5 separate regions of the Homo sapiens genome follow, and regions 2, 3, 4 and 5 are each linked to region 1. Evidence: promoter capture Hi-C in 16 types of primary human blood cells and fetal thymus (Javierre and others, 2016). All regions are on one chromosome and are shown on one strand. Each heading gives the region's core, a stretch centred on a gene start or on the middle of the fragment in contact. The rest is flanking DNA. Distances are from core to core; before and after follow the strand shown.

The links. The method cuts DNA at HindIII sites, captures the fragments that hold promoters and counts their contacts. A CHiCAGO score of 5 or more calls a contact.
Region 2: a fragment that was not itself captured here is called in contact with the fragment with the promoter of BMPER in region 1 in 1 of 17 cell types (endothelial precursors); the score reaches 7.5 in endothelial precursors.
Region 3: a contact is called between a fragment that was not itself captured here and the fragment with the promoter of BMPER in region 1, in 1 of 17 cell types (endothelial precursors). The highest score is 5.5, in endothelial precursors.
Region 4: a fragment that was not itself captured here is called in contact with the fragment with the promoter of BMPER in region 1 in 1 of 17 cell types (endothelial precursors); the score reaches 5.2 in endothelial precursors.
Region 5: a contact is called between a fragment that was not itself captured here and the fragment with the promoter of BMPER in region 1, in 1 of 17 cell types (M2 macrophages). The highest score is 6.7, in M2 macrophages.

Annotation. Positions count from the first base shown.
Region 1 is chr7:33,904,263-33,906,962 of GRCh38, reverse strand. BMPER (BMP binding endothelial regulator) reads right to left here and starts at 1,424. Exons shown (of 15, transcript NM_001365308.1): 1 at 1,217-1,424; 2 at 60-145. The coding sequence starts at 1,349. The HindIII fragment of the contact is 6,002 bases long and covers 1-2,700 here.
Region 2 is chr7:33,334,170-33,336,869 of GRCh38, reverse strand. It overlaps BBS9 (Bardet-Biedl syndrome 9), which reads right to left. Exons shown (of 23, transcript NM_198428.3): 10 at 248-429. Among named protein-coding and RNA genes, the nearest start is that of BBS9, 210 kb to the right of the region's middle. The HindIII fragment of the contact is 1,442 bases long and covers 654-2,095 here.
Region 3 is chr7:33,357,768-33,360,467 of GRCh38, reverse strand. BBS9 (Bardet-Biedl syndrome 9) reads right to left here. Exons shown (of 23, transcript NM_198428.3): 16 at 2,473-2,613. Among named protein-coding and RNA genes, the nearest start is that of BBS9, 230 kb to the right of the region's middle. The HindIII fragment of the contact is 780 bases long and covers 1,061-1,840 here.
Region 4 is chr7:33,308,505-33,311,204 of GRCh38, reverse strand. The region is part of intron 9 of BBS9 (Bardet-Biedl syndrome 9); the gene reads right to left. Among named protein-coding and RNA genes, the nearest start is that of BBS9, 180 kb to the right of the region's middle. The HindIII fragment of the contact is 478 bases long and covers 1,103-1,580 here.
Region 5 is chr7:33,284,185-33,286,884 of GRCh38, reverse strand. All of the region lies in intron 9 of BBS9 (Bardet-Biedl syndrome 9), which reads right to left. Among named protein-coding and RNA genes, the nearest start is that of BBS9, 160 kb to the right of the region's middle. The HindIII fragment of the contact is 4,857 bases long and covers 1-2,700 here.

The DNA.
Region 1 (2,700 bases), core at 175-2,674:
ATGGATTCACCTTATCAGAGAGAGCAGTTGAGTTCATATTACCTGATCTCCACACTTACCAAGCAGACACACATTATGCAAGGGTTGTCTGTGATAAATGGAATCTGGAGGACTTCACCTTCATTTTCACATTTTGCAACAGAACCTGAAATTCAGGGGGGAAAAATGTTTCATTTAAAGTTAGCTTAGCAGCATGATTTCAACATTTAAAATTTTTACACTAATCCTTTTTGAAACCTCTACCCAAACTTCAGAATTCTTAATGTGGTTTAAATTATTAAATTCACCAAAGCAAAACCTCTGCCCCCAACTCCATTTTCAATAATTTTATTTAAACAGGTTCAAAAAAGAAAAGACTATGATATAGGGATAAATTATCTGTTCTCAGATGGTCTAAGCACAATTCCAAGTATTTCACTGGATTTTTAATAACACTCCTCCTTTATGAAGATATTTCAACTAAGCACACAGCCCCATACGCAAAGAAAAAAATAAAAAATAAAATTTAAAAAAACCCTCAAATTGGGGCAGATTTTAAATTGACCAAAACTCAGAACTGAGTCAATAAACAGGCCTTTCTATGAATCTGTCTCGCATTGTCTTAGGTTTAAATCACTTTTTGAAACGCAATCCCCTTTTCCCTTCTCTTAGAAATTGACTCCATATTTTCTTTTCTGCACCAGGTGTCAGTAAAGTATGTCCTTCAGAATAGCAGCTGAGGTCTTCACCTGCCTGAAAACATATAATTATTATATCCGGCTATTAGTGCCCTTTTTAAATGATAGTTTCTTTAAATTCAAGGTCTTGAGAGCCAGTGCTTTAAAAAGCACTCCTAGCACAGTGGATGTATTGCAACCCCAAAGATGAGAAAGGAAGATGTGCGGAAAACTGCACAAATTTTTTTCCTGAGTTCTACAGAGGGAAAGATTAAAATAAAAGTTGAGGAAAGCATTAAAAATAAATAAAATAATTTCTCAAATTCAAATAGAAGAATGTCTATTATTACTACATTGAAGGCAACAGCCTCTCAGCCCGCAACCTCTTCACCAGCCTTCCCAGCCCTCCCGGGGCTTCGCTTCATCCCCATCGACCAGCGCAGGGCAAGCGCCAAGGTGCGCGCTCCCCACCCTCCCATCCCCGGGGCAAGCCAGCGCCACCTTTCCCAGGTACCAAACCGGCGTCCCGGAGGGCCGGTCCCTCCCGCCCCCTCCCCTACCTGTCAAGAAGGAGGAAGCCAGAGACATGGGGACCCCCGAGCAATTGAGTAGCAGCAAGACGCAGCACGTAATCCCAGGCGAGCGGCGGCAGTAACGCTCAGCCAGAGCCCCGACGCCGGAGAACCAGAGCATCGTCACCTGGAGGGAATCCCTGGCGACTGCAGGTCCCGCGCCGCCGCCTCTGCTCAGCTGCCGCAGCTCACAGTCGAAAAGGGCTCTCAGCCGGCGTGTCGGGAGACCGTCCGCGAAGGAGGGAGGCGGGCGCCCGAGAGCTGGGGGGCGGGGGGGTGTGAGGGAGGGCGGGGGGAGAGACCAAGGTGTGGGGGCGCCCGGGGAGGAGGGGTCCTGCGGCCAGGCTCCTCCGATGCGGCTTTTTTTTTTTTTTTCCTGAGGGAGTTGCTTGCAGTGGCTTAGCAGTCAGCCCCTCAGCGCCGGAGAGGGGGCCAGGAGGAAGGGGTGTTGCGGCAGCCGGAGATAGACTGAGAGGAGCTGCGGCGCTGCCGACTGCGCACTGCCGCTCAGCCGCCGCCCGGGCTGCCGCTACTGTTTCGGGGGCTGTCGCTGTCGCTGCCGCAGCGTCCTCCACTCCCGCACTCCTCACCTCCTGCCAGCCCCGCCGGCTCTCGGCCCTCCCGGAGCGCGCTCGCTCCGCCGCAACAGACGTGGGCTCACCGGGCGCCTCCCGGAACCCGCTGGGGGCGCCCGGGCGCAGGAGGGACTGCGCGATAGCTGCAGCGGGAACTCTCTCGGCCCAGCTTCCAGTTCCCCAGCCCCTCCAGGGAGGCCAGGGCCCCAGGGCGCGGACCAGAGCCGAGAAGGCGCGTCTCCACTGTCCGGGCGAGCGCGGCTCCTCCTCCCTTTCTTGGGGGAGCCCCGGGGATGCCGCAGCACTAGCGCTCAGGCCCGGGTGCCCCAATCCAGCGAGGGAGCAGCAAACGGGACGCAGGGGCGCCCCACCACCCTGCTCGCTCCCGGGTGCCCCACCTTTGGGAAGGAGCGACACACCCGGGGCAGTAGGGCCCCCGCAACTTTTCATGCCCTGCTTTGCTTCCCTCTGGCGGGGGCGCGACAGCGAACTCAGGGGGCTGAGCGGACAGAGGGGCAAGTGGCCTTAGAGATGTGTTCTGTGCTTAGCTGTCTGCGCGTCCTGACACTAGGGATGACCGAAGTTGAAACACACACAAGGTCGATTTAAAAACGTACCGAGGCAAACGCCTTTCGTCCTTAAAAAATGAACAGTCGCTCCGAGACTCCTCCCTTCCAATCTCGGGCGGACCGGGGCGGGGAGGTGGTGTTTGACTAATCATTCATTCACCCGAAAAGAGGGAGGAACCCCCGCCCCACCGCTCATCTCTGGCGGGGGCCGCCGCGCGGCGGCCTCTGCAGCTCGGAGCTCCGTCGCTCTCTCAGCCCGGCTGCGCCCTCTCGCCTCTGCAGCACTGGGTGTCGGGGAGTCAGCTCCTGTGATCCCCCTGCTGAATCG
Region 2 (2,700 bases), core at 125-2,624, 570 kb after region 1:
AGATAGTGCTGTCCATGAAACATTAACAACAAAAGCACTTTCTTAAATAAAATACGTTTTCAGAAGCCATAACATACAAAGTAGACATAAAGACCTTGTGTGCTAAAGAGCAATACTGTTTTTACAAATATGATTTTAATTAAGCCTAGAGGAGAAAATTAACAAATACACAAAATAATATCTATCTACAAGATAATATGAATTTCATAATGAATACTAAAATAATAAAAAGCTGCAAATGAGATACCTTGTGATTTGTTAACATCTTTGATGATTTTCTGAAGTTCTTTCATTTCTACATCAAGTTCATCATAGTTTAGTTCTCGAGATTGAACGTTTGGAGCTTGGAACAGAGAAGGATCTGTCCCCAGGTATGAACACTGCAAGTGACCATCATCACTCAGAGTGACTATCACTCCCTTTAAATCACTACAATAAGGAAGAGAAAATGAGACATAATTTTAAATTTCAGTAGAGTTAGTCTTGACCAACTACATTTTTACTCAATTCAGCATCAACACACCATTAAGAAAATAACTATATATCTATTTCTAAAGTTTTACTTCAAAGACTCAATTCAAATGTTTCAAACACGATTTGTATTTACAGAAGTATTCCCAATGTTAAGGTCCACTAAGGCCGGGAAAAAAGCTTAATTATTATAATAGCTACCACTTTTGGGGACCTAACTACAAAGCAAATCCTGCTCTAAGAGCATTTTAAGTACTGTTTTTAATCCTCCTTCCAGCTACTACTTGGCATTTCCGTAATAAGCATGTGAACAACACTTTGGAGGTACAATGGACCAAGAGATGGAGCGGGGCTGCTGGCTGGCTGAAGACCAGGAAGGAGGCACAGGAGTGAAGACAGGACAACCCAGGGGACAGAAAACCAACGAAGTTGATGTGGGAAGCCATCGGAGGTCTTGCGAAAAAAAAAGTGCCCCCGGTCTTTCCTCATCCTTTTCCCTCTCTACCCTTAGGATTCATGTTTGCCCTCTTTCCCAGGTCCTCCCATCACAGCTTCCTTCACACGCTCTCCTATTCAAGTGGCCCTCTGGTTTGTTCTCTCTTTCTCTTCACTTTTAGCTAGAAGCAGCCAATTGTCCCATTTACTAGCTCTTTCTCTATCACTCTTCTCATCCTCATTATCTTTTTTATTCCCCATTCTTTCACTCTTCCTTCTCTCTTAGGCTCCCTGAGGTCTGTTTTACTCTAGAAACTAGCCATAATATATAAATTAAGGATAATTTTAGCACACAATTTTTTTAAAGTTGTTTTTGTGAACATGTCATAAAAAGTAGCTGAGATGAATACTGTATTTGCTTCCTCCCTAAGTTTGCCATAAAAACAAAAAAATTCAACATCGTGATAAGCCATTTTGAGTTGATACATAATGGATTTGTTTGACTCACTTTTGTTTGTTAGGTTTTCTACAGAAACTTTTGATTTTTTTTTAAAGTATTTTCTACTTGGTTCTAAAGGTTAGATATTAATCAAAAATAATAAATTGGGCACAGTAGCACAAGCCTGTACTCCCAGCTACTTGAAGAGGCAAAGAATCACTTAAGCCCAGGAGTTTGAATCCAGCTTGGGCAACATAGCAAGACCTTGTCTCTAAAAGTAAACAAAAATAGAAAAATTGTGAGAGAAAAGAAGATGTTTAAATGTTGCTATTCATCTGAAGAAGAGAAAAGGACATAAAGTATATAACAGATAAGGCATGTAAGAGTCTAGGATTATTTAGAATGAACAAAAATGTTTAAAACTCCCCAACAGTGGATCATGGCAGGTAGTCATTTCATTAATCTAAAAGCTCAACTGGGTTGGGAGTAGATACTACCATTGCTCAGTTCTGCCCATAAGATGGTCACCAGCATCCACTTCACCACCTGCCTTAAACACAACATTCCAATACACATCATCTCCAGGACTCAGGCATAGTCAGTGACATGCAACCCTGTCATATTACTTGAGAGGAATAAAAAATAGATTGTTGTCACTGGTTCAACAGCTAAAGAACTAGACTAGGACGCAGGAGACTTGAGTCTGGCTCTGATGCTGCTCCTGTAGAGCTCAGTCAACTTGGGAAAGCTTTCCTAAATATTCTTTATATGTAAAATGAGAAGGTAAGACTAGATAATCCTCAAAAACTTTAAGTTTTATCAATTGCTTCTGCCATCTACCCCTCAGAAAACAAATAGTCCAAAAATGGAATGATCTTCTTAAAGTATGAAAAGCAACCCCAGAGTACCTTTGGGTTTGAACCTTTCTTTGCAGGTAACTGAAGCCATCTAGTGGCCATGGAAATCCCAACTTTCAGCTCTGACAAGCCCATTTCAAGAGAGCAAATCTTCCCTTCCCTCTGAGTTGTGACTGTAGTCTGTTCCGCATTCTAGCTAGCCCCACTAAGCCCTACGAACCCAATGAGTCCTCAGGCAACTCTAGGGTGCTAAAGCGCAGACCTCTGGGGGGGGCTTCTCAGAGAATGTGAGATTCATCAGTTCTTTGAATTCAAACAGGCATTTCCATTTCATCTTCATCCTTTGAACAGTCCATCATACAGAAAAGCTAGCATTACCCAATACAAGTATTCCTCCTTATCTAAATTGAGTTGGTCTTTGAGTTGAAAGGTTTATTACTAAATCAGTTTTATTCCATCAATTTAGATAGCAAATGGCAACAATTTAGATACAAGCCA
Region 3 (2,700 bases), core at 201-2,700, 550 kb after region 1:
TATATATGTAAATAAATGTTTTCTATATAATTATTAAGCATATTAAAAGGTTTTTCTTATAAGATTCTCTATTGGCAAGGTTTGGGGTACTGGACGCCTTTATTCAAACATTGTTGTTAGGGTTAACTGGTATTCCTTAAGGAAGTCAATTTCACACTATATTTCAGAAGTTTTAAAAACATTCTGATTCTCTGTCTCACCCAGCAATTCCACTTTTAAATATTCATCAAATAAACTATAATAAATTTGAAGAAGTATTGTTACAACAGTGTTCATCACAGGTATATTTACAATATTAATAAACTAAAAACAACGTAAATATCTAAAAGTATAATGCTGGTCAAATGATTTTATAGTATGGATTTATGAGAGAATACTATGTAATCATTAAAATCATATATCAAAAATATCTAATGGTGTAAAAAGATGTCTCAAAACAGAATGACAAGTGAAATTCTTTTTGGGGATAAATGCTTAGAAAAAATATTTATTTAAAGATTAGAAAAATGTAATGAAACAGAAAAAGGTATTGCTGGATAGTAGAATTACTAGTAACATTCACTTTTTTCCTTTTGGTTATCCACATTTTCTAAATTTCACATTTCTTTTGTAATAAGAAAAATTAAAGCTATTTTAAATATACCTATATTTGTTCACAGAAAGAGAACTGGAATAAACAAATGGGAAGACATGTAGAGTAAAAGTTGTTTTATTTCTTCTCTATAAAGCTCATTAATTTTGCTTCTTTCAGTTAAAAAAAACAGACACAGAAGATTTGCAATGGCAACTTTATCTAAGTCTTACTTTTATCAGAGTGAAGTGATACTTATTTTAAACAAGCACATGATTCCATCCAGCATGTTTAACATTAATACAAATCCAGGAATTTTTTAAAAACCACTCTATATCATATATATTGGATCCCAGAAGAAATTTTTAAAAATTTGTCATTGTGTCCCATTCCTAAAGTGAGTAAGAAGCAAATATATGCTGATGAGCATAATGACATCAAAACAATTGAGCCCAAAATCAGGAGGAAAATGGATAAGTCATCTAAGCTTTCTTTAGTACACACTATACAATTCGTATCTTATGGACTTTACCTTTCTGCTCAAAGGCATGTGTTTTTATTCAATTCTAATTGGGTTGCATTTATCTACAGTAAAGATCAACCCTTCCTCAGAAGTCAGGTGTTTAAACGTTTTTCAAAGCCACCAATAAATTTGGTGTTCAACATATAATTTCCAACTATGTTCCTAAGGTAGTATAGGAGACCCAAGAAACTAATAAGTTTATACAAGATGTTACAAAAGGTAGTGAGTCTGTTTTTTTCATAATCCAAGTTTGTTACAAGAAAACTGACTAAAAAATAAGGAGGTAAAAGAAGAGATGGGAGAAAGAACCCAAAAGGTAAAAAATATTTTGCTAACAATATATACATATATATCTCCAAACTCAATTCACACTTAAGAATAGAATAATTGTAGTAAAATATTTAATCTTGGAGATTTTTCAGAGTTATATATAAATAAAATTTTTGAAATACTGCAAATTAATAAAAAATAAATTTTAAGCACTTTAAGTAGTTAATAACACAAAAGTTGACTTACCATAAATTTCTAAACCTTGTGAGAAGTATTGTTTGTATCCTAAATCTTATCCACTAATGCAAAGGTGAAGATGCATCTCCTAGCCAACAGTGCTGATTTTTAATGAAGGATTTAAAAGGGTTGATTTAATTCCAAGATTTTATTCTTCAATTCTACCCCACCATCAAGAAAATTAATGACATGACACACTAAAAACCTTGGTTACTAAGGATGTTTGATCCAAAAAAGCTTCTTTAGTTTCTAAGCCACTCAGAAAGAAAAACTGACACTTCTCTCCAAGTCATACCATCACAAATTACCCCAAATGTTCACTGTGATATTGAAGCATTAAATATGAAACCCTTCTAAACAACCAGAAGCACAGGATGCACACCCTCTAGCTGCTGTAGACAGCAGAATAAAACAGTACAAAGAGCATCTACTTATAAGATTACTTTTCAGAGACATAAGAATATACTTTAAAAGGTACACATACAAAAGCCTACAATGAAAATAATAAATATTTATACACTTAGAAGACAGATATATCCAAAAACCTACCATAAAGATGAATAATAAATATTTACATTCCAAGCCAAAAAAATTCAGTCTAAAGAGAAACACTTGATTTTTATTTCTGAATACCATAGCAAAATAATTATTATGATAATTTTAATCAAACTTAAAAGGAATACCTTATTACCTTGTTGATATAAGCTATTCACCTTTGAACAGGCAAAGGAGGGAAAAATCCTTGAGGCATTTTTATACTCTTACTTAACAATTATCTGATAATTACCCCATCATTATCTGCTGATGAAGGATTCCATTCTAAATTCTTAGCATTTTTGATGCTGCAGGCATGTTATTTCAACAGTCTTACCTGGGAAGAGACTAAGAAGACTGACTGGAGATTTGTTGGTATCAATAGTAATTTTGTGGCTTGCAGTTTTTGAAGGCTGACCTGGTAGGCAAATTAACTTTAGGGGAAGTCTAAATTTACATTGGATAACTCGCGGAATGCCTAAAATAAAAGAGAGATATGTAGATTCATAGACTTGACAAATAATTTGGCAAAAAAAAATTGTACTACTAATAGTTTGAGCAGCAA
Region 4 (2,700 bases), core at 92-2,591, 600 kb after region 1:
TCTTCCACTTATCTGAAGTGGTCATCTTCCATGCCCCTTTGGCACCTGGTACACTCTTCCTCACCTCTTCTTAGAAAGGATCTTTGTCTGGTTCAGGTCTGCTTAGCCATTGGATTTCAATATGTCAGAAAAACTTTCCCTCACTTCACATTCTAGGCCAGGTCCCCTGTTATATGCTCCCAAAGTGCCAGCTACTATTCCTTCACAGTACTTCTCACTGTTGGAATGATATGTTTATTTGAGCAATTATATATTTAATCTTGGTCTCTCCCACTACAAGTTCCATGAATTCAGTGACCATGACTGCTTTGCTCATGAATATATCCCCAGAATCTAGCACAGTGGCTGGCATAGAGAAGGGGGTTAAATAAGCACTTGCTGAATTAATTAAATGCAAAAAGCCAAATAAGTCTTTCTTGTGGGGACTGTCTCATGTATCACAGGATGTTTAGCAGCATTCCAGGCCTCTACCAGTAAATACAAAAAACAAACAACACTTCCTGCTCCGGTTATGACATTCAAAAATGTCCCCAGGCATTGCCAAATGTCCCCTGGGGTAGGGAACTGCTCCCAGTTGGGAACCAGGGAGCTAGTATAGCCATATATCCTGGTTGCACAAGGCAGTCCCTTTTAATGCCTGTTATCCTGGTAAAATTATTAACAGAATCCCCTTTTACTCTCAGAAATATCCCAATTTGGATGAATATTATATTGTCATCCTATCCATGGCCCATCTGGATGTGTTTTGGCTCTTGCCCAGAATGAGTGAATTGTTATACACATAATGACCATGGTTTCACTTCCAACATAGAAGAAATTATAACATTTCCAACAAGTGTGTTTTTTTTAAAAATCTATATAGTAGGCTTTGGAATTAGTAGAAATAGTGTAATGACAATGAACAGAAAAAACAAGACAAAGATAGAAAAAATAATACTACATGACGATTAAATGTAGAAAAACAATGACAGAAAGAAATCAAAGATGATTCCTAAGTGTTAGCCTGGGAAAGCTGGGTATGAAGCCATCTATCAAGATTAAACACACTGTAGGAGGAGGGCTGAATTTTGTGGGGTGATTGAGGAGGCAAGGCAAGCAAGCTTGGATTTTGAGACAGCTACTCAACACTAAGGTGATACCCAGCAGACACTGGAAAGTACAGGTCTTGCAGACACACAGATATTTGTTGTGATATGTGCCCCTTTTTTGGCTCCGATGCCACTGGACTTAACTCTCTTGCTTCTCTACCTTCTCTAGTTTCTTTTAAGATCTCTTCATCCTGCCTCCTAATTATGAGAATCCCTAAATATTCTACTCAGACCTTTCTTCTTCCCATGCTCCACTAACTCCCTGAGAATTCAATGCTATATTAGCTACTAATTCTGCACTGACAGGTGCCAGCCTAACCCCTAGTCTGTAACCTCCAATACCACATGGCCGGATCCTTCTAAGTATTTCCACTTGAATTATATTAACTTACATGAGTATGAGTATTTTCAGTTTAAAAGGGACTTTCATATACATTTATTTCCATCTATGTACCTCGGTCACCATACATTCAACAGGCTGGAAACCAAGCTTTTCTTTCTCAAAAACCTGGTCCCTTTTCCTACCTTCTTATTTCTTATAATATCACTATAATTAACCCATCACCTCTGTTCCAAAGAATAACAATAATTCTTTTTCTGCTTCATGCCCCTATATAAAAAGTCACCAAATCAATTTATGTACTTGCTTCTTGAGTTTCCTCATTTCTAAAATGAAGCAGTTAAACTACTTCTAGCTCAAATGTGTTATAATTCAAAGTCTTGGAAATCTTGGGTTCATTCACCAGTCAAACGTGTTATAATTTGAAGTCTTGGAAATCTTGGGTCCATCCTTCACTCAAACGTGTTATAATTTGAAGTGTTGGAAACCTTGGGTTCATTCACCACTACCTTAGTCTAGGCTAGTGATTCTCAATCCTATTGCATATTAGAATCACCTAAGAATCTTCTTTTAACTACTTCTATGTAATCCTCCTGCAATCCAGGCATCAGTTTTATTTAAAGACCCCCTACTCCAGTGATTCTAATGTCATCAAGACTGAGAACCATAGATCTAAGCCCTCATTACTGTCACCTACATTTTGCAGATGAGAAAACTCAGGCTCAGAGAAGTGACAGATTGGCTCAAAATTTCATAACTAATAAATGAACCAAGCTCACTCTGATTCCAAAGTCCATATTCTTTCCTTGTGCCAAAAAGCAACTGGTACTTAAAAATACAATCTATACCAATTGATATAATATTTGTTTTTACGTTGCTTTAAAAATGCTTCATTTTCTTTCATATGTGTATAGTTGGTGGCTCCTAAGAGGCCATAAGTGAGAGGTGGAGTCTTCTCATTTGCCCCATAGAAGCTACGTCAGGATTGAGGAACAATAAGTACAAAGTCTATTTTTAAAACACTGTTCATAAAGTACTGATGTGGGTTTGCATTTTCAAAATTCCAAGGAGAGATCTATTCATCTCTTGAAAACTGCCACAATCATTTAAGTAAGCTGTCAACTGACTGAGATGGAGAATCATTATGGTACAAAGTTCAGTAGGGAAATACAAATCCTAGGTACAGAACTGTGATGGATAGTGCTCTCCTATACCTCTACAAACACAAGCTGCCAAACATCAGACCGTTAGTGAATAACCAGATCTTCTGAA
Region 5 (2,700 bases), core at 138-2,637, 620 kb after region 1:
TGGGAAACAGAGATACAGAGATATTTCTCTTTTTTTATTCTGGTGATAACTCAGATTTTTGCACTCCAAAGCTAGTTCTAAAAAACAGGCCATACACCAGTTAACAGAATAAAGGACTAAGTCCATCCAAAGTTCTAAAGTTCAAAGTACTTCTGCAAAGAGCTTAGCCGCATATAAACTTTATGTTACTGCCCCCCACACACAAATAAATCACTTTTTCTCTTTTATATTCTACAGTAAGTAACTAAGAAAACACAAACTTTTTCCTCTGGGAAATAGAGCTATTTCCCAGAATTCTCAGGAACCCATAAAAATAAACTCATTCTATCTTTGAAACCAGAGAGTCAAATTTCAGTTATCAGGAGGACCCACTATCTGAAGTAAGGAGAAAAAAATGTTAAATCACATGTGTTTTCTAAGAAAAATGAACGGCAAAGTCACTAACCTGATAGAAATGATCTCCGGGACCAAAGGGCCAAGAAGGTATGTGCTTAGTGAAAGGCAAACCCTTCATAACTAGTGAAAAGCAAACACTTTCCTTTTGGCTACAACCCTACTGCAACTGAATCCCCCATATATCAATTATGGGATACAGAATGAGGAACCCAAAACACAAAAGGATTTTTCCTACCGGTATAAATTATTTTCTTGGAGATTGAGAGTTTCATTTTTAAGAGATGTTCACAGTCTTGATGACAGTACTTCTAAAGAAGTTTTTCAGTGGAAACATGTGGTAATAAGTAGAATTCTACCATTGAAACATTTAATTTATAAAACAGAAAATCATAAACCCAACTGGCATTCTAACTGCAACTACTTATCCTTGGCTATACAGTGTTTCTAAAATCTCTGCCAGGCAAATTAAATAGACTTACTATGGAATGTAACAAAATCAAACAATCTGGAACTGTAATTACTATGATATTGTTTATAAGAATGGAGGATGCTGTGTTTTACATTATTACATTAAAAATAAAATGATCATGAAAACATGAGCCAAGCAGAAGATATCTAACTTTTCCTAAGGAGAATTTTTCTGAGAATTATAACCTTGACTGACAAATAAAAATAAAGATATGGCTTTTTAATTTATTTAATGATTCCTACAAGGTCTTTTCCATGTGAATAAAACACTTATCAAAATAGCCATACTACAGTTTATGAAAGTAGTGTACCAAATGACAGGCCATACCTCAATAATGGTTTAGCCACATGGCTATAAGGACATTATAAGCACAATTCTTGTGCTTCTCCATTTTAAGCCCCATCAATATAATATCTAGGGGTCATCTCATAAAGACCTTTTATCTGACACAATGGAAATATATGCATGCATGTAACGATGACCATCAAAAATCATGCAACTAATTTTACCCCCAAAATCCTTCAATGAGATTGACATAATTTGTCCAAATTATGTTTACTGAGGTACCAATAGTAAGAGGAAGAAAAAATATACGAACTATGACATAATTCTGTTCCTTCATCCCCCATAACTCATGTTAAGTTACAGTATACCACAATGCAATAGCAGATTCATTAGGCCCTAAACCAAAGCTCTCCTCTTTTGATAGGAACCCATGAAAGCCAAGAGTTCTGTCACTCTACCTAACATTTCTGATTATAAACTCACTGCCCCATCTGATTCAGAATTCCAAGTTCTATATGAACCAGAAAACTGTACAGACATCTGTTAGTGACCTATGATTGAAGCAACATATTTTATAACTACCCTCTTGAATCTTTCCAACCTCTACCACTGCCCGTGGCCCCTCTACACTATCTATTGACTTCTAAACAAAGGTAGCAAATTCTATAAAATTGTCCAAGTAAAGAACAGAGATTAATAATGGCATATTATATACTCAGAGATAAAGCCCCAAAATAAACACTATAAACATGTTTCAAAGTAAGATGTACTTGGTACTAGTGCCTCATGGGAATTGTAACTTGGCATATACTACACTGGTTAAGAGTAGCAAAGATACAGGAGGTAGGAGGGAAGTGGCTGGGAGAAAGACAGTACCTCAGCAGACTAAAAAAATCTTCCACTGTAGACATAGAAAAGACCAAAACCAGTGCCGTGGTTTCTCAAAACTGATATGGAACACAAATTTTACACACTTCCACAGAAAACAGAGAAAACAAATGACAAAGAAATGAAAATTATGAGGAAAAAGAGAGCAGATATTGGGAACAGAAAATAAGTAGCCAACCAAAAGATATTAGTTTTCCTGAAGGACAGATTAAATCAAACAAAACTGAAGAAATAATCAAAGATATAACATAGGAAACCTTTCTTCAGCAGCAAAACAAATGGTTTAAACAGATTAAATTCACTACATTCCCAATAATATCAAGGAAAATATCATCATACAGATATATGGTGGCAAGTGTGGCATTTACAGAAAAAATGAAAAACATTCTACAAGCAATCAAACATAAAGAACTGATTACCTACAACAAAACAAAAATCAGGTTGTCCATGGATTTCTCCTCAGCAACAATAAAGACTGACAAAGACTTGAATTCTAATCAAAGATAATACAGCAAAACTTACCAAAAACAGCAGAAAGTACTACAATAACTACCACCTCCCAAAAAAAGGAAATTGAATGAGGAAATGACTACAGTCACAATCAACAAACTTTGAAGCCTACCAAATATCTTAAATTCTGGACCACAGTATGATAGGATGCC